Regions from separate parts of the Homo sapiens genome. Here all the other regions are linked to region 5. The links are contacts of gene promoters, found by promoter capture Hi-C in blood cells and fetal thymus (Javierre and others, 2016). All regions are on one chromosome and are shown on one strand. Each heading gives the region's core, a stretch centred on a gene start or on the middle of the fragment in contact. The rest is flanking DNA. Distances are from core to core; before and after follow the strand shown.

Evidence for each region. The method cuts DNA at HindIII sites, captures the fragments that hold promoters and counts their contacts. A CHiCAGO score of 5 or more calls a contact.
Region 1: a contact is called between a fragment that was not itself captured here and the fragment with the promoter of PCBP1-AS1 in region 5, in 1 of 17 cell types (fetal thymus). The highest score is 5.1, in fetal thymus.
Region 2: a contact is called between a fragment that was not itself captured here and the fragment with the promoter of PCBP1-AS1 in region 5, in 3 of 17 cell types (neutrophils, monocytes and fetal thymus). The highest score is 9.0, in neutrophils.
Region 3: a contact is called between a fragment that was not itself captured here and the fragment with the promoter of PCBP1-AS1 in region 5, in 17 of 17 cell types (monocytes, fetal thymus, total CD8 T cells and 14 more). The highest score is 17.8, in monocytes.
Region 4: the fragment with the promoter of FAM136A here is called in contact with the fragment with the promoter of PCBP1-AS1 in region 5 in 1 of 17 cell types (fetal thymus); the score reaches 6.8 in fetal thymus.

What each region holds. Positions count from the first base shown.
Region 1 is chr2:69,833,870-69,838,984 of GRCh38, forward strand. GMCL1 (germ cell-less 1, spermatogenesis associated) reads left to right here. Exons shown (of 14, transcript NM_178439.5): 2 at 3,678-3,801. Among named protein-coding and RNA genes, the nearest start is that of GMCL1, 6.8 kb to the left of the region's middle. The HindIII fragment of the contact is 487 bases long and covers 2,303-2,789 here.
Region 2 is chr2:69,936,559-69,942,083 of GRCh38, forward strand. MXD1 (MAX dimerization protein 1) reads left to right here. Exons shown (of 6, transcript NM_002357.4): 5 at 677-836; 6 at 1,539-5,525. The coding sequence ends at 1,726. It also overlaps a transcript of ASPRV1 not described here. Among named protein-coding and RNA genes, the nearest start is that of ASPRV1, 22 kb to the right of the region's middle. RefSeq lists an enhancer at 751-1,286. The HindIII fragment of the contact is 1,707 bases long and covers 2,183-3,889 here.
Region 3 is chr2:69,918,580-69,923,955 of GRCh38, forward strand. It overlaps MXD1 (MAX dimerization protein 1), which reads left to right. Exons shown (of 6, transcript NM_002357.4): 3 at 3,157-3,186. Among named protein-coding and RNA genes, the nearest start is that of MXD1, 6.2 kb to the left of the region's middle. The HindIII fragment of the contact is 1,056 bases long and covers 2,818-3,873 here.
Region 4 is chr2:70,300,151-70,305,611 of GRCh38, forward strand. It overlaps FAM136A (family with sequence similarity 136 member A), which reads right to left and starts at 1,917. Exons shown (of 3, transcript NM_001329752.2): 1 at 1,454-1,917; 2 at 690-830. The coding sequence starts at 1,861. RefSeq lists enhancers at 253-1,202, 1,203-2,151 and silencers at 1,837-2,106, 3,910-4,039. The HindIII fragment of the contact is 2,364 bases long and covers 1,612-3,975 here.
Region 5 is chr2:70,083,457-70,089,205 of GRCh38, forward strand. It overlaps PCBP1-AS1 (PCBP1 antisense RNA 1), which reads right to left and starts at 3,559. Exons shown (of 11, transcript NR_033872.1): 1 at 3,522-3,559; 2 at 2,091-2,168; 3 at 82-231. PCBP1 (poly(rC) binding protein 1) reads left to right here and starts at 4,021. Exons shown (of 1, transcript NM_006196.4): 1 at 4,021-5,747. The coding sequence starts at 4,288. The coding sequence ends at 5,358. It also overlaps a transcript of ASPRV1 not described here. RefSeq lists enhancers at 2,618-2,757, 2,898-2,987, 3,028-3,237, 4,443-5,087, 5,159-5,325 and silencers at 3,448-3,597, 4,048-4,107. The HindIII fragment of the contact is 2,991 bases long and covers 2,562-5,552 here.

The sequences.
Region 1 (5,115 bases), core at 1,296-3,795, 250 kb before region 5:
TGTCTCTAAAAAATTGAAACGACATTACATAGTTATAACTAAGTAAATATTGTTTCAGAAGAGTTAAGTAGTATGCTAGGATTATAAATCATACTTGATGGGTCCAGTGTCACAACTGCTTGTCTGTTCAAAGGGAGAAATTTTTCTAACCTCACAGTCATATGGAATCTTTTCTTGTATTCCATCAAGTGCTTAAAGTCAGGCCCTGCTTTTGTTTTTATCTTATTTGGACAGTGCCTTTTTTTGTATTGCTTTTTTATTGTCCTAGAGTTTATAATGGCCTTTCCCCCACTCTTGTCAAAATAACAATATTCCTTCATCATGGCTTCGGGTTTTTCTGAAAAAACACAGAAAAGTCTTTTGAAACACACTTTCATGGAATCCTTCTCTAAAACCTAGACCTCTTCCATCCTCCTGTTCCAATCTGGATTTGTCTACTCTTATGCTGGGACTTACTTTCACCCCATCTCTAGGATTGAATCCACTATTTTGTGTAGCCTGCATTTCTTTCTCGCTTATTTTAGGAACTATTTAATACATCCTCAAGTATTTTCCAAGGAAGGGTGCAAAAGGGGGTAATTTGTGCGTATCTAAATATAAATTTAGTCTCTTTTACTTTATTCATCCTCTGACTGGGTATGGAAATCTAAAGTAACTTTCTTCATATCTTTGATGACGCTGCTTCATTGTCTTCAGGCCTACAGTCTTGATGAAAAATTTGATTCTGGTGTAATTCTCTTTTCAGGTGACCATTTTTGCTCTCTGGAACTTGTGGAACTTTTTCTTTGGTATTTTGGGATTTAATTAGAATGTGCTTAAGTGTGGGTCTTTTAATGGCCTTGGTACTTGTTGGATCCTTATAATCTGGAGACTCATATACTACCTTAGTTTTGGGAAATTTTTTTCCATTAATTTCTTCCATAATTTCCTTTCGCTTCTTATCTTTATTTTTTCTTTCTGGGATGCCTCTTAACTGGATTTTGGATTTCTTGGATTATGCCTGTCTCTTCTTTTTTCCTTTCTTTGTCTTTTTGCTTTATGTTCTGGGAAATTTCCTTTAACTTTTTCATCACTATCATTAGGTTGTTTGGCCCTAACTATGAGGTATTTCTTTTGGACCAGGGGTGAAAATTACTAAAATATGAAATGTGCTGTGATCCATGAAAGCTTGGGAACCTCTGCTCTACAAAGCATGCCCCACCTATAACCAACTTCGTAGTCTTCTTACTCAAAGAAGAGGTACCTTGGAAATAGATCTATTTACTCAATTAAAACACCATACATCAGTTATTCATTCTTAAATATAAGTGGACAAGCAAGGAAGGATCACCCAACATGAGGAAGAAAAACAAACAAACTATTCTTTGGTTTATTTGTTTTTTTAAATTTCAGTAATCATGTCTTTAGTCTCTAAAAGCTCTTTCTTGTTCTGAGTGATCCTTTATCATAGCAGTCTATGGGGTAAATATAATAATCTCAGATCTCTAGGTATACTGGTGAGAGGGTGTTTTTTTCCTCTCTTTTCCCTGAATTATATGTTTCCAGGGGTGGAGGGAGTCTCTCTGTCTCTCTGATATGCTCTTATTCTTCCTCATGGTGGGTGATCCTTCCTTGCTTGTCCACTTATATTTAAGAAGGAGTAACTGGTGTATGGTGTTTTAATTGAGGAAATAGATCTATTTCCAATGTACCTCTTCTTTGAGTAAGAAGACTACGAAGTTGGTTATAGGTGGGGCATGCTTTGTAGAGCAGAGGTTCCCAAGCTTTCATGGATCACAGCACATTTCATATTTTAGTAATTTTCACCCCTGGTCCAAAAGAAATACCTCATAGTTAGGGCCAAACAACCTAATGATAGCAGATTGCATGGTATCTGAAAGATGTTACTGTGTTTCCTTCGAATTTAAAATACTCCACATGCCTCTCTGAGTTGGCTGTGGTGCTCTAAGTTCAGATGGTATCCTGAACTGGTGAATTTCACACACGGTTTGGGAACCATGACTTAGGGTGAATGGATTGGGAGTGAACAGGCCACAGATTCTTTAAATTTCAGAATGAGGATTGCTTTGTCTGGGCACCAGCAGCTACACTACAGCCTTAGATCTTCCATTAGCTTTGTGCTATTTCTAGAAAAACCTTGGAATCTTTTTGCCTCAGTATCTGTACTCTCCTTATCTATACTCTGTGTTCATAGAGTGGAGAAGGCACTAGTTTCCCCATTTTCTGCCCCTCTTCTTACTTCTGCCTTTGTTTCCCTGAGACCTCATCCTTCTTTTCTCCCAAGGGTTCTGATGGGCAGATAAGCTTAGCCTCCATCCTAGTCCTCCATAATGTATTTTTTGGCTGTGGCTGTCACTGTTCTTTTTCATTTGAATTTGTTTTCTAACTTTCAGATCTGTATAAATCTCTCATCAAGTGATGAGCCTACCCTCACCTTTTCCTGGTGTGGACTTATTCCTTTTTTGTACTCTTAATCTTTAATGTAATTTGGGGAGGGATGGGAAGCCAACATGTGTACATTCTGCCGTCAGGAACTGGAAACTACATTGTCTCTTGATTTCGCATCATAACGAGTGAAGTGGATACTATTAATGTCCTCTTTTTACAGCTGTGATAACTGAGCAGCTGGGACTCAAACCCAAGTCTGTTACCACTAAGACATGTGCTGTTTTTATTGTCGGCTAGGAAGAGGTGTTAAGTACACAGGTGTTAAATTCGCCAATTCAGGATGTCATCTGAAACAATTACTTCATTTTTAAAAAGAGATTGAAGGTTTTATGTGCTAGGAAAGCTTTCAGAATTGGTCAGGAATTTAAGATATTGATCAGCCTCTGCCTAAGGCCTTTTCTTAGTTACTGGATCATTTTGAGCAATGATTTTCAAACTTTATTTTTTTAGTCAAGTCTTCCTTTAAATTAAATCTGTGCAGAAATCCAGTATGTTTACAGATAGAATAGGTGATGCTGCTCTGGTTGAAGTTAGATGGGATGCTCACAGTTCACTCCTTAGCTCTCCTTGGTGGCCCCTAAGACTTCTCCTTTGAGCAGTTTTAAAAACCTTTCATCTAAAATAAATAAATAAATAATTTTAAAAAACAAATAGGAAAAGAAAAGAAAACCTTTGATCTAAGGTTGCAAACCGTTTGTCCAGTGGCTGGAAAACATTTTAAGTAGTTTAAGAATAGGTTGGTACCAAAATAAGATTAAATGTAAATTATTTTAAAATTACTTGGGTAGGTGAAATGTTTACTCTTGTTCTCCATTTCCTACTTGCAGATTATTGCGCTATTTGAGCTCCTTCATAGTGCTGGTTTCTAAATAAGGAAATAAGCAAAAAATCAACATGCTAACTTCTTAATCTATTGAATGGGTAATTAAATTAGTCCAAAATTGCTAAAACATGTGTAGTGAAAAGTCTGCCTCCCATGCTGCCCCCCTTTCTCCACTATCTCTCCCGTGCATAGAGGACCCCAGAGATAACCACTATTATTAGTTTCTTATGTACTCTTCTAGACACAAGAAAATTTGAATATATACTATCTCCCTATCCTTTTACACAATAGGTAAGTTGACTCTATTTAATAGAAATTGAATAAAAGGAGTATTTAGAAATATATGCAAAATCAGTAAAACATTCAGTTTTATATAAATATGTGACTTTTTCATTTCTTTTAACAGGAAAAAATTAAAGAGTACATCTAAATATATTTATCAAACATTATTTTTGAATGGTGAAAACAGTGACATTAAGATTTGTGCTCTAGGAGAAGAATGGAGCTTACACAAAATATATTTATGTCAAGTAAGTATTTTTTCTATTTGAGTAACAGGGTAGTCACTGAAACTCTTAAGTCATGTTCTTCCTCATTGCACTTCACAGTAATCTTTTGCATGAACACCATAGTGGTTAAATCCTCTCATTTGATCAGTCTGTAAGAAAAATGGCAAACATTGTTAGTGAAAACTAAGTTTGGTCTAGAAAGAGATTTTGATATTTCAGTATCAGACTAGCCTAATACTACGTATTTGTCATTACTTCATAAAATGCTTTTTTCGGTGCCTTCTGTTGATAAAAGGGGAAAAGTTGGGGAAAAAATATTTAACATTAAAGTTAAGATTGTAGTGTTTATTTTGCTTATGGTTATTTAAATTGGATAAACTCATCTGAAATGTTGCTTTGTAGTTCACATTGAGTGTGAATAGAAAGTTCTCTCCTGAAAAATGCAGGTAAAGACAACACCAAAAAGTATATAGACTAAGTAGATTTCTGTACTGAAAATATTACTACCTGCCACCCCACTTTAAAAATTCAGAACTTTCATAGCTGACGTGGTGTTGGGCACCTGTAATCCCAGCTACTCAGGAGGCTGAGGCAGGAGAATTGCTTGAACCTGGGAGATGGAGGTTGCAGTGAGCTGAGATCGTACCACTGCATTCCAGCCTGGGCAACAGAGCGAGACTCTGTCTCAAAAAAAAAAAAAAAAAAAAAAAAAAAATCGGAGCTTTCAAAATAGAATACAATGTTGCTCTAATGGCCCAAATATTTTATTCATTTTCTTTCATCAAATCTATAAGCTAGGTATTGTTTGAGGCACTAGAAATAAAACAACAGTTTTTATCCTTTGGAACTTACATTTTTCCTCTTTACCATTTGAGAATAATTACTGGTAAGACAGCATAGTATAAAATTTTTCAGTAAAAGTATTTGAAAATGAATTGCCTTCTCTAACATTTTAATCATGTTTTAAAATGTGTTTTTGAAACAAATTTATTTTGGCTTGAAGTATGTTGCCCAGATACTATATCAGAATATTGCTTTTAACTTCAGGGTATGATTCATGTTGTTTCTTTTTAATATCTGAAAGCAGTTTTGTGAACTTGAGGGTAAGAATACCTCTGTTAAAACTTTACCCCTCGTGGAAGATGTATTATAATTCAAGCCACATGCTAAAATATAAGCCCCCTGAGGACAGAAACAATATCGATTTTGTTTATTGCTATATTCACAGTGCCTTCTACATACTAAGTACTCAGTAACATTTTTAAATAAATTAGTTAATATTTGATCCATTTCAAAGTAATTCTAATTATGAGGAGTGCTATCTGGCAGATACCT
Region 2 (5,525 bases), core at 1,786-4,285, 150 kb before region 5:
CAATTCTGGGAGAAAACCTCTATTTAAAGCAAAACAGCTACAATTAAACAATCTTCTTAATTATCTGAAGAATATGAGAAGCTGGGGGCAGATTTATAAAAATGAGTATTCTATGGAAATGTGTTTTCTAAACTCTTCTGTTGGACAAATTAGAATCAGGACATCAAAAGGGACTATTATTTCCTGCTAACAAACAGAAGTTAATTGAGATTTGGCATGACACAAAAAAGTGCTTATGTAATTGGGACATGTACTTGAATAAACATAGTTTTAAATGGAAGCGTGTTTCTTAAGCTCCCATCAAGTGCAGTTTTCTAGTCCGGAGATCAGGTGTTCAGGGGATTGCTGCAAACAAGGGAGATCAGGTTGGGGACTGCTGCCTGCAGTCTTTCTGATACTAAAACTGAGGGCTACCAGGGTGCCAGTATGTGAGAGCTCACCCCCAGAATCCCTGTGACAGGACAAGTACCCCCAGCACTGGCGATGCTGAAGAGTCAGACGAAGCCAGGAGTCACTGGCCAGTCGACTTCCTGTCTCAGGGAGAAGCTTGATGAGTGGCACCGAAAGGCGTCTGAGGAAGTGTGGCGCATTCCACTGCTAGAAGGGAAGATGCGGGGGCCATTGCCCATTTAGAGATCTCCCTGTGGGGCCCAACAACTACCCCTTTGACTTGCAGAAACTTGAAGATTGTGACAGAAAAGCCGTTCACCAAATCGACCAGCTTCAGCGAGAGCAGCGACACCTGAAGAGGCAGCTGGAGAAGCTGGGCATTGAGAGGATCCGGATGGACAGCATCGGCTCCACCGTCTCCTCGGAGCGCTCCGACTCCGACAGGGGTGAGCCTCTCTCACTCTCCTCCCTGTCTCCCTTGTGCTCCCCAACCCCAGAGCAGGGGTTCAGTACTGCGGACAGGAGGCAGAGTGTAAGAAGAACTAAGACACTGGGTATGATGTAGAGAAGTCGAACAGTGTGACCTCCAGTGACAGGTTCCTTCTCCCTGCTAACACTTAGGTGACAACCCCAGAAGAGTTTGATTGGTGTCAGTTTTCAGCCTAGTTTGTTTTGTTTTGTTTTGAGACGGAATCTTGCTCTGTCACCCAGGCTGGAGTGCAGTGGTGTGATCTTGGCTCACTGCAACCTCCGCCTCCCGGGTTCAAGCGATTCCCCTGCCTAAGCCTCCCAAGCAGCTGGGATTACAGGCACACACCACAATGCCTGGCAAATTTTCCTATTTTTGTAGAGATGAGGTTTCACCATATTGGCCAGGCTGGTCTCGAACTCCTGACCTCAAGTAATTCACCCACCTTGGCCTCCCAAAGTGCTGGGATTACAGGCGTGAGCCACCACACCCAGCCAAATTTTTGTATTAGTAGAAACAGGGTTTCACTGTGTTGGCCCAGCTGGTCTCAAACTCCTAACCTCAAGTGATCCACCCGCCTTTGCCTCCCAAAGTGCTGGGATTACAAGCATGAGCCACCACGCCTGAGCTTTCTGCAGAGCGCTTTCATCAATGTCCTTCTCTCTTGTCCTCCCTGCAGAAGAAATCGACGTTGACGTGGAGAGCACGGACTATCTCACAGGTGATCTGGACTGGAGCAGCAGCAGTGTGAGCGACTCTGACGAGCGGGGCAGCATGCAGAGCCTCGGCAGTGATGAGGGCTATTCCAGCACCAGCATCAAGAGAATAAAGCTGCAGGACAGTCACAAGGCGTGTCTTGGTCTCTAAGAGAGTGGGCACTGCGGCTGTCTCCTTGAAGGTTCTCCCTGTTGGTTCTGATTAGGTAACGTATTGGACCTGCCCACAACTCCCTTGCACGTAAACTTCAGTGTCCCACCTTGACCAAAATCAGCTTTGTAACTGTTTTCAAGGAGGTGCTTAGGATTGTGGGTTTCTGATTGCATCCACTAGCTTCTCTTTTTCTCGCCATAAAAATTTGTCTCTGAGAGACTATACATTCCAATCAATTTGAAGCATCCAAGAATTCTTAGACCGAATAAGCAATGTCCACATCTCAGCAATCCCCCTCTTTGCTCTCCTCGTGTCCTCTCCCAGACCTTTCTTCCAGTTTTCTGGCTTACTGTGTTACTTGCCTAGGAGGAATGTCCAAGTGTGTCTTGTACTTAGGAAACTGAAGGAAACAAACTTTTGAAATTGAGATCCTGATCTCAGAACTCCAAAGTAAGCTTTGAAAGCAGCATTTAAGAGCACTTAACCATGGACCTCACCACCAGTGAGGAAGTCAGGAATACCTCTAGAAAACACGCCCTTCACACCGCGCATGCTCATTCCCCCGACGCGCCGCGTGTGGATGGGAGCAGTATTTCTCACTTTAAAATGGACACCTTGATAGTGTGTCTCTGGGGTTGCACAGCTCATCAAAGTTCCAAATTGTTTGTTCTCACAAACAAAACGGTACAATCTATTTTTGTGCGATGTTCTTGGGACCTCGCTGTGTTCTGCTATCTCGAGGCACATTCTCCCCTCCAACTTTGTTAATGCTACTTGTCTCTGGAACATTTTTTTTTCCTACCTCAGAGATAAATGAGATCTCCATTTCCCACTTAACACAGTGATTATCCTTTTTTCCCCCCCCAAAATAGTGACATTTGGTCCAATTATAATCTATTTTCCTATTGAACTTTCAGCAATAACTGAGCTGTGGCACTAGCAGAGCTAGTAGCCATTATCAGTGAAAGAAAAAGTCCACATTTCTACTCTCTGTTGCAGGTGAACAGGAGAGGATGGTACACTGTTACTAGAACTCCTCTCCTTATTGATTATTTTTGGACACACCCAGAAACTTCTTTATGGAGGCTTTTGGGTTGATAGTTTAAAAGGCTGATTTTTCTTTTTGGTTATGATTTCTCCCTTAAGTGGTCTCCGACTTTGTAGCATTTTTATTTAAGCTAAAACAGAGCACATGTATATGTACATAAGACACATTAAATCTATAAATACTATTTATTCATTTTATATAAACTAATGTAATGGAAAACAAATTCTTATGACTTTGTGGTTTTATAGATGTTCTAGAAACTTTGTATGTAGGTATCTACAAAATTAGTTCATTCCCCTGAATATTTTTGCATTCATATTTTTGAGGTCTTGATGTTTTCAGCCTCTGGCGAATCTTTTTCATTGAATTTGAACCATTTGTAAAATCTGTGATGCTGAAGCAGAGTGTGTCACAAAGTGATGAGAACATTACTAAAATCCACGGACGCACTGCGACCTAAGGGCTCAACGGCTGACTCGGCAGCGGGCAGCCACCCCACGCTCCCCTGCGGTCACTCGCACACCACAGCCTGAAGCTCCCCCAGCGCCTGCACCTCGCACACAGCTAAGGTCAAAGTTCAAACGCACTCCACACGGAAGCTCATTCTATACCCGAAGAGCAGTCTCAGAAAGCAAGATTACTTTTGTGTTTTTTAAAAAATGATTCTTTAATGTATTTTTCTAAACATTCTGATTGGAAGTAGTGGATTCCTAAATGATTCCAAAGTCACCTGTAATTCTTCTGTTTTTGTTTTGTTCTGTCTTTTCTTCATTTTGGCTTTGGGTGGGGGGAGGGGCAGGTGACACAAAGGATTTTTTTTTTTTTTTTTTAATTTTTGGAATCTTTTCCAATAACCAGCTAAAGATTTGCACTGAAATACAACTTGTATGCCTTTTGCATTTTTAAAGCCTGCTTCCTGGATTTAAGCAGAGTGATAGTGTTCAAAGAGCCAGTTCAGCCTGTAACATATTTGAAAAAGATATGTCTGCACTTTGAGGTCCCTTTTGAATGCCATTCACTAGACCTCTCAAGCATTTTGTTTCATTGCTACATCCAAGCGCCTCACAAGTCCACAATGCGGGACAGCATCAAAAGCTCAAGACTTTGGAAAAAGCTTGTGGGCTTGCACTGGGGGAGGGAAGGGAACAAAATTTGTGTACTTCTTTGTTTAATTTAGAAATAAGGCATCCAAGAGATGCCATTATTTTCTGTGTTTCAATTGTTGTGCCTTTGAGTTAAACTGCATTTTTGTCTTTTGGTTGAAATCTGAAATGTACTGTCCCAATATAAAACAGTAATTATTTGACCTTTGCACTGTTTGTCTGGTCCTTTTCAGTTTGATTGCATATAAATGTGGAACTTGATAGATCTCTATATTTTTAATGCACTTGTGATAAACTGGCAGCAGGGTTAGACATTACTTTCAAAGCTTGAGGTAGACCGAGTCAGCATGCTAGACAGGCTTCTCTCTCTAACCAAAACTGTAATCTTCAGGACCAGCAAACTCAGCCCAAGGCAGCTAATCCCCCCAACCCCATCCTCCGCGCCCCGTGCGGCTGATCGGCAGCCCTGATTCGCCAATTTGTCCTCTCTCATTCACTGATCCACCAGCCTGACTGCTAAGAGCTATAGTCTTTTTAGTTGTTTTGTCTTTTTAAGCAAGATGAAAACCTTTCTATTAGGGATTTTGGGGTTGGGAGGGGATGGGCAGAGATATAAACCCCAGCCTTTAAGACTTTGACAATTGTACGTAAATACAGATGTGTATAAATATAGGCACATGCATATTTTTATGTGAAAGTTGATTTTAAAAAACTAAAAAAATCTAAACTGCACTCTTATTGATACCATCATAACGCAAGTGGGAAAAATAAGAGTACGCAGTCTAATTTAATTTCATGCAGTGGGAAAATATATATGTGTGCTTCTGTAACATCCTGAAAACATAGCTTTCCATCCCCTGTTGGCTTTGAATGGTGGGCCGAGCACCCAGGTCGTCTGTATTTTGGTTTTCTTTTGCTAAGCAGAGATCTTGAATTCTTCAAGGTGCTGATAGCAACTGCTGGCTCCTTTCTGTAGTCACACACCTAATGCTAGTTTAGTGATTCAAAATGCATCACATTTTTAGGCAGGACCTAGATTTTCCCTGTCAACCTAAGATGAAAATAATTTCAGTGTTGATTCAGAACTGAACATTAAGTAGGCCCTCGTCCTGCAGTTGGCCACTTGAGTGTTTTGTTTTGTTTTTATTTTTTAAGGTGGGCATTTTCCTTTAACCTCTACTTTTTCAAAAGCAACAAAGGGGCCTCAACCTGAGTTTCCTATGGGCCTCTCTTCTGCATCCCCAAAGCGGCCAAGAGCAAATCCTGGGGGATAAGAAAAAAGTGTAAACTAGGTAGGATTGTGATGCTCAAAATAACCATCTAGCAATATCTTGGAGCTTGAGAATAGATTTTGTGGGCTTATTTCTTCTTGCCTCTTCCCCATCCTTTCAAGAGAGAACTTATTTTTGAAAAGTATCTATATATACACACACACACACACACACACATATTATTATTTAGGTTTTTATACCATACTGTATTGGCGAGAATACCACTATCATTGTCCTTTACAGTCTATTTCTTCCCCCAAGTCTTGGTCTTTTTTTATTTTCTATTTTTTCATGAACCACACAGGAGACTTTAACATCCTGGTCTTTTCTGTTTCTTCTTTGTTTCCCCAAGTTTGTCTGTCCCCCTTTGCCTT
Region 3 (5,376 bases), core at 2,096-4,595, 170 kb before region 5:
ACTCACGTGAAAGAGGAAGTTCAGGACTTGCCACCCAGTTGTTTTATAAGACAGTGGCTAGAGTGACCTGACATGAGGAGTGTTTTTGAACCCAAGAATTTTTCCTGGTTATCTCAGATACGCCGTAATTTGGCTTAGTTTTTTTTTATTAGAGTGTATTTTTAAATGGTGAAATTTGACCTTTATCAGTGATTCCAGAGTTATCCATTGTTTTCCATAATCACATGGAAAATAGTTTTGACACAAGGTATCAGTGTGTTCTTACAGTGCTTTAATTAAAAACGTAAATGTTTACCCATCAATGGAGGTGGCTGGCAGTCTCGGAACTGATCATTTTTGAAAGGGCTGCTTTTTATTAATAACTCAGTTTCAGTAAACTAGATGCACTTCAGTAATGCTCTAGCCATTAAGTACAAGTCCCCCTTTAAAAAGCACCATGTGTTTAACACTCGAGTAATCAAATAAAATCTGTAGTTTTAAAAATTTTGTTCAAATTTTGGAAGAAGTTGTGCTTCCTATGGAGTTTGTTTAAAAGTTTATTTTGGGGATTCAGAATTTTGCATAAGTATATAACTCTATTTATTAGTTTATATATTTTCAAAGAATCCAGAAATATTTTGGTAAGAATTTCCTGTGTGCTGTTATTTTCTACTCTCTTCTCAACCTATTCACTTTCCTCTCCTCCACCTACAAGGGGTGGTCCTTGTCTACAGTTAAAGAGGGTAATCTCAACCAACTGTTGGCATATACTTTCATCCATTTTATTTTATTTATTTATTTATTTTTAGACAGTCTCGCTCTGTTGCCTAAGCTAGAATGCAGTGGCACCATCTCGACTTACTACAACCTCTACCTCCTGGGTTCAAGTGATTCTCCTGCCTCAGCCTCCCGAGTAGCTGGGATTACAGGCGTATGTGACCATGCCTGGCTAATTTTTGTATTTTTAGTAAAGACGGGGTTTCGCCAGGTTAGCCAGGCTGGTCTCGAACTCCTGACCTCAAGTGATCCACCCACCTCAGCCTCCCAAAGTGCTGGGATCCCACTATGCCCATCTACTTTCATCCATTTAAAAAAATCTGTCAGGCTTTGAACTTACTAGTCCCGGTTAAAGTTAAAATGCCACGTGCTTTAGAGCCAAAGGTTTGCAGTATATGCCAGATTCTTGTTAACTATAGTATCCTGTTGGCCATTGAAGGCAATAAACCTTCAGAACAATGTGACTGGAGAATGCTGAGGGATAACCAAGTGAATCAGTGTAAAGCTTTTATTTCTTTTTAATTGAGATGGGCTCTTGCTGTGTTGCCCACACTGGTCTCCAACTCCTGAGCTCAAGCAATTCTCCTGCCTCAGCCTCCCAAAGTGCTGAGATTACAGGTCTGAGCCACCATGCCTGACCATTTTAAAGTTTTGTTTTGTTTTGTTTTGTTTTGTTTTGTTTTGTTTTGTTTTTGAGATGGAGTCTCCCTCTGTCGCTAGGCTGGAGTGCAGTGGCACGATCTCAGCTCACTGCAACCTCCAACTCCCTCGTTCAAGGGAGTAGCTGGGATTACAGGCACGCGCCACCACGCCCGGCTAATTTTTGTATTTTAGTAGAGACAGGGTTTCACCATGTTGGCCAGGATGGTCTCAATTTCCTGACCTCATGATCCGCCTGCCTCGGCCTCCCAAAGTGTTGGGCTTACAGATGTGAACCACTGCGCCTAGCCTGAAACTTTTAAGTTAACCAATTTTGGATTGGTTTGAATACATGAGGTCCATATATTGTTTACCTAGAAAACAAATATTCTAAACTTAAAATACTGTCATTTTCTCATTTATTTTTTCTTCGTGAATAAAAATTGATTCCTAAGATCCCTGTGAAAGAGAAGTTTAATGCTAGGTTGGAAATTTCTCATTTCAAGACAACCTCCTCACTTCCGCTGCCATCCCCCCACATTCACTCTCCTTACCCCCATTCTCTGATGAGTGAACTTGATGTTGGTGCCCCTGATGTAAATGAGTGGCTGAGCACTCTTGAGGTGGTATTCCTCCATGATTGCTGTGAGAATTTATTTCCTAAGCCCAGTAAGGTGCTGATTATGGCCCCACAGAATTCATGAGCTGAACCAGGGAGTAAACTCCTGAGCTGGTTAAATTCTAGAGAATTTTCATAGAAAGGTCAAGCAAGATTCAGCTCCTTTATAATACTGGTAGCTTCTTCCAAATTTATAACTGGTTAGGAAGGGGTTGTGTGAGGAGGACACTAAAGGGGCCACATTGACTTCTTATGACTTTATGGTAACTTGTCCATAAAGTCTTAGGCCAGACCTTGTCTTTAAGGTCAGCCATAAATACACTAATCATATGGTTTCATATCCATCACACCTTTCATCCAAGGCTCTCTAATCAGTTTTACAGCTGTTACCTCATTGGTCCATACTTGTTCAGTAAATAATTCGTAATTATTTTTATTCTCATTTTATAGACAGGTTAACCAGTAACAGGATGGTAAAGAATTTTATTCATTCCACAGTATATCAGTGGCAAAGCTGGACTTCACATTTCACTAACTTCTGCTTTAAGCAACCTATCATCTTTATATTGAGCTGAACTTTGGAAACCCCTTCCTAAAATCATTTGGTTGCTATTTAACAGTAGCATCTTGTACATGATAGTTACTTCAGGGAGTCAGAAGTTTGGGGAAGGGGGTTATTTTACTATTTAAAACAATATAGTCAAGCAACTTTACACAAAATTTTGGTGTATGCTACCCCTAGGGAAAACTGCAGGGGTGGGGTAGGGGTGCTACCTCCCCTGTTCTACCCTTAGCCTACAGAAAGCTTTGTCGTATTATATAACGCAAATTCACATTGCATCGTGCAGCTGTTTTTGTATAAATAGACCCCTTTTATTTCTTGTCTTAAAATGGATTATTTTTCCACTAGAGAAGGCATGCTTCTTGGTTTGTCGCTTTACCTTGAACTCTATTTTAGGATTTACATTTATCTAACTCTTCAAATGGACTAATTTTTTTAGTAGAGCCCAGTGAATTTTTCTGCCTTTCTACATCTCTCCTATCAACTTTGGAGAGAAAGAAGTTAAAAGAATTGTGTTGGTGTTGAAGTAGTTCTTTAAGACAAAAATATCTTATTCTTCTCTTATTGTTCCCTCTTTCAGATCAACTCACAATGAAATGGAGAAGAATAGGTGAGTTGGGGATTTGGGAGGTGGAATGCGGGGAGCTTTGTTGCATTCTCTGTTCATGCAGTTCAAACTTGGTTGCTCTTTTTGACTCTTCCCACTAGTAGCACCTGATTTCAGAATTCACCCAGCGCCCTCTAAGCAGCATCGCTCATAAATTACTTAGGTAGATGTAGAGCTTGCCAGTTAAAAGACCACACCCCTAACCCTCACCCGCACCAGCCCACTCCTGAAGAAGGCCTTTGAATGACTATTCCACAGACCAAAGCATTTTAGTCAGAGGCAACATTTCCACAAATAGTGTTTTTAAAAAAATTACATGCTACTGAATATCATTGGCAGTGTTATCTAAAATACATATACACAGATATATATACACATAATATACATGTAAGTATATATTAACACATGTGTATTAACGTGTATGTATGTGTATTTGCAGTTTACTTGTGAATGAAGAGTCTCAAAATTCAGGCAAATGTATGCATGGCAGAAATTGGAGATGGTGCCTAACTAGAGGAGGACTGCCACCCTCACTGGGCTCCATCTTGCCGCAGCCTGAGTGGAATCTCTCTCACCTGGATTGCCTCTTGCTGCTTACTTAAATCTTTATTTTCCAAATCAAGTTGCCCCTCCTTCAGTGAGGCAGCCGAGTGGTTTTCAACTCTGGTTGCACATTAGAATCACTTGCAAAGCTTTCTGTGTATTTTTAAACATATTTTTATATTAAATACATTATACACATACACTTGTATATTTTTCTGGTGAGGGTAGAGAACAAAGGTTTATTTCTGCTGATTCTATAAAATAACTTTTTATTATAGAAAATTTCAAATCTGGCCAGGTACAGTGGCTCATACCTGTAATCCCAGCACTTTGGGAGGCCAAAGTGGGTGGATCACCTGAGGTCAGGAGTTCGAGACCAGCCTGGCCAACATGGCAAAACCCTGTTTCAACTAATAATACAAAAATTAGCCAGGTGTGGTGGCACGTGCCTGTAATCCCAGCTACTTGGGAGGCTGAGGCAGGAGAATCGCTTGAACCCTAGAGGCGGAGGTTGCGGTGAGCCGAGATCCCGCCACTGCACTCCGGCTTGGGCAACAGAGTGAGACTCCGTCTCAAAAAAAAAAAAAAAAAGTAGAGTGACTAATGTAATCAACTCCTATGTATCCATTACCCAGCTTCAGTAATTATCAACATTTTGCCAGTCTTCTGTAAGCAAAACCACCTATTCCCATGAAGTATTTTAAAGCAAATTTTCTTGTATCTCTAGTAAACACCAAAAAAAAAAAAAAACACACAAAACACCCAAAACAACAACAAAAAAAAAACCACTTGCTTTTACCATACTGAAAAAAATTAATGATAACTTTTTGTGGAGCTTTTAAAAGCCAACAAACAAACAAACAAAATAATGCCCAGACCTTACCCTTAGCAATTCTGATTTAATTGGTTTGGGTTGAGGCTCTGCACTCGTATGTTTCAAAAGCTCCCCAGGTGATTCTCATGTGCAGCCATGGCGGAGAACCATTGAACTAGCCTCATTCTGGTCTCTGAGCTCCCATCAATTTGAAATGCGGGCTACCCATCCAAATTGAGTGCTTTCTCAGTGCCCTGCATGAACAAGAAAAGGATGTGTAATGATGGCTCTATAAAGACATGTGGTTATTTCCTGCCAACCCTCTTTGAAAAAGGAGCCTGACTCTGAAAGTCAGGATCTGAATGATATTTATGTTTAATCAGTGAAAGGGCAGACTAAACCCTTCCCAGGCAGGTAGAATCTGGGAAGAGGGCGGTTAGCTTTACTCCACTATGGAATTTCGTGTGTGTGTGTGTGTGTGTGATGCTGAGTGTGCCTCACTGCATATATGCTTCTGCTCATCCCATCGTCTTCCCTTTTAATTGTTCTATGATTGTGACTGACCATGTTTTAAGTTGGAGCTTCCTTTATGCTTTAGCTATTTACATATCATGAACTAGAAACTCAAAAGTATCTCTTCTTAAAGGGGAAAGGTAGTCAGTTGTGGCTTCTCTTTCTCATTTTTAGATTTTCTCTTCAGATTCTCTCCCTTCTTCCTGCCTTTGCAGTGATGTGGGTAAACCGGGACTATTTCTGCTGAAAAGTCTTCTAGTTCTTCGCCCCTCTAATACTTTAGTTTGGTATTTATTTTTATTATTATTAAAATTTGATCGCTT
Region 4 (5,461 bases), core at 667-3,166, 220 kb after region 5:
CGGCCTCCCAAAATGTTGGGATTACAGGCGCGAGCTACGCGTCCAGCCAGGAAACTTTATACTACACAGTATACATTCTGTATTTGGTGGTTATGTCAAAAGGAACAAACAAACGCCTCCTCCCCAACAAACTGCATAAGGGCTCTTGGTCATGAACTCCCCTGGTAACTCCCCATTACATCATTTCTTTTTTTTTGAGACAGAGTCTCGCTCTGTTGCCAGGCTGAAGTGCAGTGGCGCGATCTTGGCTCACTGCAACTACACCTCCTGGGTTCAAGAGATTCCCCTGCCTCAGCCTCCCTAGTATCTGGGACTACAGGTGCGTGCCACCACGCCTGGCTAATTTTTTGTATTTTAGTAGAGACGGGGTTTCACCATGTTGGCCAGGATGGTCTTGATCTCCTGCTCTCATGATCCACCTGCCTCAGCCTCCTAAAGTGCTGGGATTACAGGCATGAGCCTCCGCGCTCGGCCTACATCATTTCTATAGGAAATGATGTTCAACTTAAGGCACTCGACCGCCAAGACTTTTTCCAAAATTTCAAACCCTGTGAAAACTGGTTGGCCATCAGTATCACAACTGTTAACAGAACCAAGACACTAAAGCCAAGAGTTTTGAACAAATGCTTGTCATCTCCTGCAAAAGTCTGTATCAAGGACTACAGTGCTCTGTCTAGGATATTTCTCACCTGGAACTTCTCCAGCTCACTGGTGACCAAAGCCTGGGCTTGAGCCAGAGGCACATGGCAGCGCTCGATGCACTGGTGCACCTGCTTCATGGAGGCCTGGCTGTCCTCACAACAGCTGGCGCTGCACCGGAACATGAGACCCTGGGGAGAAAGGGCAGAGAGGTTAGGTAGGAAAGTCTCTGGGGACAGAGATGACTATGGAGCACTACAGGAGTTAGAAGGCCACGTGGATATTTGCACCTCTCTCTCCACCTTCTGCTTTCACCTTCCCTGAGAATAGACACCAGGACCTTAAAACCACCACTGGGGAAAATTATCCTCAATGTCTAGTGTAGTGTTTCATGGTGTCCTTGCTGCTAGCTCATCGGCACCTGTTGCACCGATGGTTGGGTGAACAGAGGTTCGCCCGAGTGGGTGAGGGTAGGGTGGTCTGACGAAGCCAAATTCTGAAAACCAGGAGCCTCTTCCATGGGGTTCAGAGGTCAGCAACCTAGCAATACAAATTCCACCAGAGGGCAGCCGACCCACTAATCAATGACTCAAGGGGCACTATCTGGGAAACGCATACTCCGTGAGAGAAGCAGGACCGAAACACACAGAGGCATTGCGGGGCTCAGAGAAGAACAGTGTAGAAACCCGCGCTGTGTGAAGCGAGGTTGGGCGCAAGAGAAGCAGGCATGACCTGGCCAACGGGGAGGCCGGAAGTCCTCGCCTTTCTGGTCTTTCACGTTGGCAGCGCCTCTGCTGGGCCTCGGGCCGCTCACCTGCGGAAGGGGCCGCGTAAGAGGGGAAGGTGGTGGGGCGAGCGCCTGCCACCAGGGGCTTCCCACCTGCCGCCGAGGACGCTCCTGCCCCGGGCTGGAAGGGGCGGAAAACAGCCTCGCGCACGGCAAGGGCACACGGATTTCATCCGATCCGCCAAAGCTTCCGAAGTCCTGTCCGAGGCCGCCCCGGCGACCCCAGGGCCGCCCACACCCGGTCTGCGGGGACGCGGCTGCAGTGCAAGGCGTCGCGTGGTGGCTGAGGGAAGGGCCCGGAACCCACCCGCTGAGAAGGGGGTCCTGGTTCGGCCCCAGCCCCGCTACCTGCATCTTCCGGATGTTCTCTCTTTCCAGACTCTTCACCATGGACTCCACCGCCTCCTGCACCCGGAGCTGCTGCAGCTCAGCCATGGCGACCCCGCGCTGCCCCGCGGCGCTCCGCGCCGGCGCCCATATGGAATCGGCGTACGGGCCCGCCCCCTCACCGCCCTTCGCCGCCCTTCGCCGCCTGCCCTTCCAGGGCCCACGCCCCCCCCTGGCGGCCGAACGGAGCCACTGCATGCTGGTGTCCGCGAGCCCACCGCCCTCCTCCCGCTTGGGAACCGGTCACTGGGACACCTGCCCTGCGGCTGCTGCCTGCCTTTCCTCCTCCCTCCCATGTCCCTCCCTTTACATTCTTTAAAATTATTTAATGTAATTTACATACAGATAAATGCCCAGATCTTAGGCGTGCTGCTTGATGAGTTTTAACAAACCCTGTCCGCCGGGCGCAGTGGCTTACGCCTGTAATCCCAGCACTTTGGGAGGCCGTGGGCAGGTGGATGACCTGAGCTCAGGAATTTGAGACCAGCCTGGCCAACCTGGCGAAACCCCGTCCCTACTAAAAATACAAAAATTAGCCGGGTGTGGTGGCACATGCCTGTAGTCCCAGCTATTTGGGAGGCTGAGGCAGGAGAATTGCTTGAACCCGGGAGGGAGAGGTTGCAGTGAGCCGAAATCACGCCATTGCACTCCAGCCTGGACGACAGAGTGAGACTCTGTCTCTAAACAACAATAAAAACCCAAACTCTGTCTTGTCCCAATCTCCGTCCTTTCTACCCCATCTCCCCACCCCTGCCCTAACTGGTCTGCTTCTGTCACTGTAGATTACATTTTCTCTTTCTAGAATGTCATATGTATGTTATTATCCAATAAGTACTCCTTTTCTGTCTGGCTTTTTTAGCATATTGCTGAAAAATACTTAGCCTAATGCTTTCGAGATTGAGCTGTGTTGTTGGTTCTTTTTTGCTGCTGAGTAGTATTCTATTGAATGGACATACCACATTTGTCGTTGTTGTTTTTTGAGACAGGGTCTTACTCTGTCACCCAGGCTGGAGTGCAGTGATGTGGTCTCGGCTCATGCAGCCTCCACCTCCCTGGTTCAAGTGATTCTCATGCCTCAGCCTCCCGAGTAGCTGGGATTACAGGCATGTGCCACCACGTCTGGCTAATTTTTTTTTTTTTTTTGTAGACACGGGGTTTCACCATGTTAGCCAAGCTGGTCTCCAACTCCTGAGCTCAAGGGATCCACACACCTCGGCCTCCCAAAGTGCTGAGATTGCAGGCATGAGGCATCGGTCCCGGCCCACATTTGTTGATCCATTCCCCTGCTGATGGGTGTTTGGGTCTTTTCCACTTAGTAGCTATTATGAATAAAGTGGTGACTATGAACATCCTTGACCATTTTTTTTTTCTTTTGGAGATGGGATCTTGCTATGTTGTCCAGGCTGGTCTCAAACTCCAGGCCTCAAGCTATCCTCCTGCCTCTGCCTATCAAAGGGATTACGGGTATGCACCACCACCCAGTCCTGGACCAAGTCTTTTGTAGACACAGATTTTCTTTTCTTTTGGGTAAATATCTAGAAATGGGATTGTTGGATCACAGGGTAGATGTATGTTTATGCATTTATTTCTCATAAAAAATGAACTTCAGAGACAAAGCAGGGGCTACAGATCATCAATGAAGCAGTCATCAATGAAGCACTTACATGCCAGCAACATGAAACTGTTTCTGAATTCCTGGAGCAGTTTTTTTTTTGGAATGCCTCACTGTCCCACCCATAACAGTACTGTCGTGTGCATTCATTTATCGAATACATTAGCTAGGGGTGCGGGTCCAGAGGGGAGTGTCAGTGGAGAAGGGAAACACACTCCGTGGAGAAGGGGAAGGGGCAGTGTTGGAAGAGGTGTGCTGGAGGAGGTGGTCCAGGCTGGCAAGGAGGGAGTGAGCCATCCGGGTTCCTCAGGAAAGTTTTCTTAGAGGAGATAAGGCTTGAATTGAGGCTTTGAATTGAATTGAAATGAGTGGGTGTTTGCTTGGCATATGGGGCTGAAGAGAAAGCCATGTCAGGCATGGGGGTGCAAGGTGGGGGTGGGGGAGGAACAAAGGAATGGGGCCGTCATTAGAATTTAACGATTTTCTGCCATTGGGCGCTAGATGGCAGGAGAACTCTAGTTTAGGGCAGTGGGGAGTTTGACTCAACCCAAGCTTCTTTGAAGAAAGCTATGTTTTGATTGGGCACGGTGGCTCACGCCTGTAATCCCAGCACTTTGGGGAGCTGAGGCAGGTGGATCACCTGAGGTCAGGAGTTCAGGAGTTTGAGACCAGCCTGGCCAACATGGTGAAACCCCATCTCTACTAAAAGCACAAAAATTAGCCGGGCGTGGTGGCAGGCACTTGTAGTCTTGGCTACTTTGGGAGGCTGAGACAGGAGAATCGCTTGAATCCGGGAGGTAGAGGTTGCAGCGAGCTGAGATCACGTCACTGCACTCCAGCTTGGGCAACAAAGTGAGACTCTGTCTCAAAAAAAATAAAATAAAAAATAAAAGCAAGCAAGCAAGCAAGCAAGCAAGCAAGCAAGCAACCAAACAAGCTGTGTTCTTCCAGCGCCAGGCCCTCTCTAGTGAGTACAAGTGTGAGTATCTCCCCATAAATCACAGTTCAGGGTCTTGAGACAGCCTGTTCACTTCAAGCTCGACTACAAGTGGCTCCCAGCAGCAGCTGGAATCAGGGCGACACCAACTATTAAATAATGTGCCAGACAGTGTTTTAAGTGCCTTCCACGGGATGATCTCATTTAATTTCCATGACAAAGCACCCTATGAGGTGGGTACTTTACTCTCCTCTCTTCTCTCACTCAGGGCAGAAAACTGAGGCCTAGGGAGATGAAACCACTTGCCAGAGATTGCACATTTATAAACTGGTGGAGCTGGAATTCCAATCCTGATGGGCTAACTCCAGACTAGAAAAAGTAGGAAATCTCTATTGTGACTGACTTAATGTTTATACTTATGTCCCATATTCCACAGAAAGTTCTTTCTTTCTTCTTTATAGCACAATCTGAAACTACTCACTTCTCCCTCTTATTCCTAAAATGCCAGACAGAACCTCTCCAACAGCTCCTACTTGTAGGAGCCAAGTTAATCATGCTAAAATGAGTTTAAAAGTCCTTGAGTAATGCAGCCTTGTTAGTTTCTATACACAAATTGAATGGTACTTTTAGTATTTACGAAAAATGATTCTTGGCTGGGGCGGTGGCTCACATCTGTAATTCCAGCACATTGGGAGGCCGAGGCGGGCAGATCACTTGGGGCTGGGAGCTTGAGACCAGCCTGGCCAACGTGGTGAAACCCCCATCTCTACTAAAAATATAAAAACATTAGCTGGGCATAGCGGCACACACCTGCAATCACAGCTACTCAGAGGCTGAGGTGGGAGAATCACTTGCACTCAGGAGGTGGAGGTTGCAGTGAGCTGAGATGGTGCCACTGCACTCCAGCATGGGTGACAGAGCGAGACTCTCCCTCAAAAAAAAAAAACAAAAAAACAAAAAAACAGAAAAAAAAAAACCCAGAAAAAAAAAAAAGAAAAATGATTCCTGACTTCCAGTTAGTTGGCTGTGGAAATCCCATGGGAGTCATGGTGGAAGCAGAGTTTAATCTCATGTTAGGAAGCTCAGATACCTGTCTGTG
Region 5 (5,749 bases), core at 2,309-4,808:
ATGTAGCATAAATCCTGTGGTTCAACTTCCAAAGTCTAAACCTGACTCACCTTCTTAGCCTTGTTAAACCCCTCAACCAACCTGTGGTCACTGAGAGGAGGCGAGTCATGTGTGAGGCTCCAGGCAGGGGTGGGGCAGTGACTACTCAGTCAATTGCTCCATGTCTCAGTGGTTTCATCTATAAAATGGGTGGTGTGGAATTCACTCAGGTATCCACAAGATAATGCAGGTCTGAGGAAGGGAGTGGAGATTTTACCAAAAGTGCAGAAAACATTTACATAAACCTCCCACCCCGCCAAAGAAAAATAACCAAAGTCATCAAATATCATCAGTCCCTGGACATAAGTAGAAGGACCCTTAGAGATCATTTAATCTCTTGCTTTATAAAAGGGAGAACTGAAACCCTGACAGATGAGTTGTAGAAGTCTCAGAGCTAGACAGGGGCAGAGCTAGGACTAGGGCCCAGAGCCTCAGATTCCAAGGTCCAATGACCTCTTTGCCAGACCACAGCATCACCCAAGGTGTCTGTATGACATGTTACCAACCCCAAGACACATTACAATTTAACCAACGTCCAAACGTGGGCTACCGAAGGGAGAAACTGTTAAGACTCTCGGGGAAGGAGGGAGGCTAAGAGCTGGGGAAGCTGGGAAAGGGAAGGCTTCACTGAGGAGGTGCACTAAGTCCCAGGAGTACATAACAGGAAATTATGGAAATATTTCAGTAGGTAGTCTTGGAAAGAAAGACCTGACAGATAAAATTTTCTCTAGAGAAAAGAAATAAGTTAGATTTAAAAGACCAGAAGAAGGCTTTGTTTGAACATTCCTTGATTATATGCAATTTAGTCCTTTTGTTGTCACCTGAGTTTCTAACACTTGGTAATATTTTTAATTCCCTCATCTATTCTGTCTCCCTATGAGACAGGACTCTCTGCAGAGACCACATCCAGTTTAGTGGTTAAGAATGGAGTCTCTGGACTCAGATTGCCTAAATTCAAATCCTTGCTTTACCACTTAATAGCTGTGTGACCTTGGATAAATTCCTTCACTAATCTGTACCTCTGTAAAACTGACCTAATATCACCACCCATTTCAGGAGGTTTTGTGAGGATTAAATGTGTATAAGCGGTCACAACTTATTAATGGGTTTTTAATCACTTTATAATGTGTCCTTTTTATATATAAAGAATAGAAATTACCCAAGTACATATACTGCATGTAGTAACAAATATTGTTTTGCAAAAATTTTGTTACATATGTGTGCATAAATGTCTTAAATCATAATGTAAAATTTGTTTCTTAGTGGTTTTTTTAAAAATGTGAGACACTGAATACATAAAATAAGGCTTAGAACAATGCCCAGCACACAGTAAGCACCTAGTGCTGTAACTGTCATCGTTGCTGTTATGTACCTATTAAATGTTCGTAGAGTTATATAAACTAACATGAAACCACTTTGGAAAATATATCTGATAGTAACATAAGTTAAAGGCAAAAAGCCCTTCTCTTTGTCTCTCATATCCACACACAATCAGAGCCCTGCTCAGGCACCAGTTTGTTGCTTGGCCCACTAGCTACGTGTTGCATTGAACTGAAGAGTCCACAGACTGACCTAACACTCTGTCATGCTCTGTCAATCTCTGCAGAGAAATGGAGGCTTGGTGCCAGAGCGAATTTATTTTTACCTGGTTGGGGTGCTGGGGTGGGGGAGGCAAGAGTCAAGCCCATGGGGAGCTGACGGAAGCAAGTCAGTCATACAAAAAACCATTTGCTCCCCCAGAGGCAGGTAGGCTCAAATGTGCCACAGACAGGGCCAGACCGACAGACACCTGAGCCTCTGGGCAGGCTGAATCACTTCCCCCTCCCTATCCTCACCAGACACTGCATAAGACAGCATTTCAGCCCGCCCGCCCGTTACAGGTGTAGCTCTTATCAGGAAAAGCTGGGAGCTGCCTGATACAAAAAGGGGCTGACTGCACAACAAAAGATTACCTGAAGGGCTCATTTAAATGACAAGCTCACCTAAACGTTTTAAATAGTATTTAAATTCCAAAACCCTGATTTACAGAAAAACCTGGAAAATGTGCTCACCAGTAAGGAAATCTGGAGGTCCATCCCCGACATTGTGTGACCTTGAATTAAGCACTTCATCTTTATGTTTGTCTTCCTCTGTTTAAAAGAGAGAGAGAGAGAGAGAGATAAGAACACCTACCTCAGAGGACCATGGTAAAAATTAAAGATAGAATACGGTGAACTGCCTTGCATCGGATGTGCTGGCACTGGCCAATGCACAATAAACGCCTGTCCCTTCTAGACTAAAAATGAACACTTAATTGTGGTAAACTATTAATAAGATTCACCGGCCAACTGTCCTATGAAAAAGTCAGAGGCACTGTAGTCTCTTCGTAGCTCTCGTTCTCTCCAGCACAACAGCCCATGCTAGGAAGTCTAGAAAAGCAGTAACTTATCTCATTCCTTAAATTAAACAGAGGTTTCTAAATGCTTTGGTACTGTGGGGACCCAAATTATCCCTTGATACTGCCCCCCTATTATCCACTATTAAGCTTTAAAAAGGCGAGAGATTAAATATTGTGCCCACATTTTACAGTCATTCGCGTTCCCGTTTCAAATTAAAGGGAGGAAAACGCGTTAAAATTAGGCCTCCGACCTTCAGACCAGCCTGTGGGCTTTTTTAAGTCATAAAACTCGCGGAGGTGGAAGGCCCCGGGGAGGAAGAGGGGTGCATTCTAGAGCTTTCGGGCCGACCCCAATTTCTCGTTGGCGACGAATGCTAACCACGTGTCGCCATTTTGTGTTCAGGAAACATGGCGGCCGCCCCAAGGGTAAGGAACAGGGGAGGCGGAGTAGCGCCACGTTAGCCGCTTTCCCTGAGAGATTGTGAAGCACGTTGCGCACGGGGCCCTTTCTGGTCTGGCTTAGCCCAAGGAGGAAGGGGAAAAGGCAGAAATCACAACTCATAGGCCAGCGTCTTGAGCGACACTTCCTCAGCGGGAAGAACCGGCAAAAAAGGCCTTCCAAGATGGCGGGCCCTGACGGGGCCGCCCCCCTTGAGCCTGGCGCAGTGGCTGCGCCCATGGGCCCGAAAAGCAGCCGCGGGAGCCCAGGCCGCGCGGGGAAAGCCGCAGAAACGTCCTGAAGCCCTGGCCGGCAGCCCCTGAACAAACGAGGCCTCCACAGGCGTACACTATTGTTTCTAATGTCGGAAAAGGGTGCCGCGGTGGAAACGACACAAGGGCAGGAGGTGGGGTTTCTGTGGCTTTAACCGAAAGAAACTTGCGAAACGCAAACAAAGCATTATGTAAATGGACGCCATTCTTTTTAGGACCACGTTTCTAGCACGCCCCACAAACAGCAGAGCCGCGATTCGGCAGGCGGCCGTGAGTGGGTTTCGGTCTTTCTGCCCACCGGCCGCCGCCGGGGAGCAGGAGCTGGGGTGGGGGATCCATGCAGGGCGCCCGGACGCCGGGGACGAAAGGGCCCCACGTGCCCGCCCGCGCGCACCCGCTCCGCAGGCCTCGCCTCGCCGCCCCTCCCCCCCGGAAGAGGGCTGCTGCCCCTCCCATCCCCCCACACCCTCGCGCACGCGCTCTGGTCACCTCACGCGCATGTTTTAAACCCGCGGCGTCCCGGCTTGTGCCTGCAGTTTCCGCCGGGGCTGCCCATGTCGTTCCGCGCACGAGCCCCTCATGTAGGGCAGGAAAATAATGTCTATCCCGCATACACAGCACTAGTATTTTCAGTCACCCGCCAGTGCCGTTAGAGTTAATAAAATACGTCATCATTTTAAAACTTTGCCGGACTCACAGCTTCCGCCCATCGTGCGCTTCATTTTCACTACTGCAGTGTCAGAAGGTTTTTTTTTTAAGGACCATGTAAGGGTTGGCGCAATCTTGTGACCTAAAAAAGACGGGTCCTCATTTTTTTTCAAGGGGTCCTGCGCAGCAAGCACTTCCGGGGTCAGAGGGTACGCGGGGTTGAAAGCGGGCTTCCCGCCCCGCCCAGACCGCCGAGGCTGCCGCCGGAGTCGCCACCGCCGCGCCCTCGCCCACCCGCCCGCCCGCCGCTCCCGGCCCCGCTCGCCCCCTCCGCCGCCGCCGCCCGCCCCTGCGACTACGCTGCGGCCTCCCGCCCGCTCCCGCTCGCTCCCGCGGCCCTCGCTCGCCTCGCGCCGGCAGTTTTGGGCCTACACCTCCCCTCCCCCCGCCAGCCGCCAAAGACTTGACCACGTAACGAGCCCAACTCCCCCGAACGCCGCCCGCCGCTCGCCATGGATGCCGGTGTGACTGAAAGTGGACTAAATGTGACTCTCACCATTCGGCTTCTTATGCACGGAAAGGAAGTAGGAAGCATCATTGGGAAGAAAGGGGAGTCGGTTAAGAGGATCCGCGAGGAGAGTGGCGCGCGGATCAACATCTCGGAGGGGAATTGTCCGGAGAGAATCATCACTCTGACCGGCCCCACCAATGCCATCTTTAAGGCTTTCGCTATGATCATCGACAAGCTGGAGGAAGATATCAACAGCTCCATGACCAACAGTACCGCGGCCAGCAGGCCCCCGGTCACCCTGAGGCTGGTGGTGCCGGCCACCCAGTGCGGCTCCCTGATTGGGAAAGGCGGGTGTAAGATCAAAGAGATCCGCGAGAGTACGGGGGCGCAGGTCCAGGTGGCGGGGGATATGCTGCCCAACTCCACCGAGCGGGCCATCACCATCGCTGGCGTGCCGCAGTCTGTCACCGAGTGTGTCAAGCAGATTTGCCTGGTCATGCTGGAGACGCTCTCCCAGTCTCCGCAAGGGAGAGTCATGACCATTCCGTACCAGCCCATGCCGGCCAGCTCCCCAGTCATCTGCGCGGGCGGCCAAGATCGGTGCAGCGACGCTGCGGGCTACCCCCATGCCACCCATGACCTGGAGGGACCACCTCTAGATGCCTACTCGATTCAAGGACAACACACCATTTCTCCGCTCGATCTGGCCAAGCTGAACCAGGTGGCAAGACAACAGTCTCACTTTGCCATGATGCACGGCGGGACCGGATTCGCCGGAATTGACTCCAGCTCTCCAGAGGTGAAAGGCTATTGGGCAAGTTTGGATGCATCTACTCAAACCACCCATGAACTCACCATTCCAAATAACTTAATTGGCTGCATAATCGGGCGCCAAGGCGCCAACATTAATGAGATCCGCCAGATGTCCGGGGCCCAGATCAAAATTGCCAACCCAGTGGAAGGCTCCTCTGGTAGGCAGGTTACTATCACTGGCTCTGCTGCCAGTATTAGTCTGGCCCAGTATCTAATCAATGCCAGGCTTTCCTCTGAGAAGGGCATGGGGTGCAGCTAGAACAGTGTAGGTTCCCTCAATAACCCCTTTCTGCTGTTCTCCCATGATCCAACTGTGTAATTTCTGGTCAGTGATTCCAGGTTTTAAATAATTTGTAAGTGTTCAGTTTCTACACAACTTTATCATCCGCTAAGAATTTAAAAATCACATTCTCTGTTCAGCTGTTAATGCTGGGATCCATATTTAGTTTTATAAGCTTTTCCCTGTTTTTAGTTTTGTTTTGGGTTTTTTGGCTCATGAATTTTATTTCTGTTTGTCGATAAGAAATGTAAGAGTGGAATGTTAATAAATTTCAGTTTAGTTCTGTAATGTCAAGAATTTAAGAATTAAAAAACGGATTGGTTAAAAAATGCTTCATATTTGAAAAAGCTGGGAATTGCTGTCTTAAACT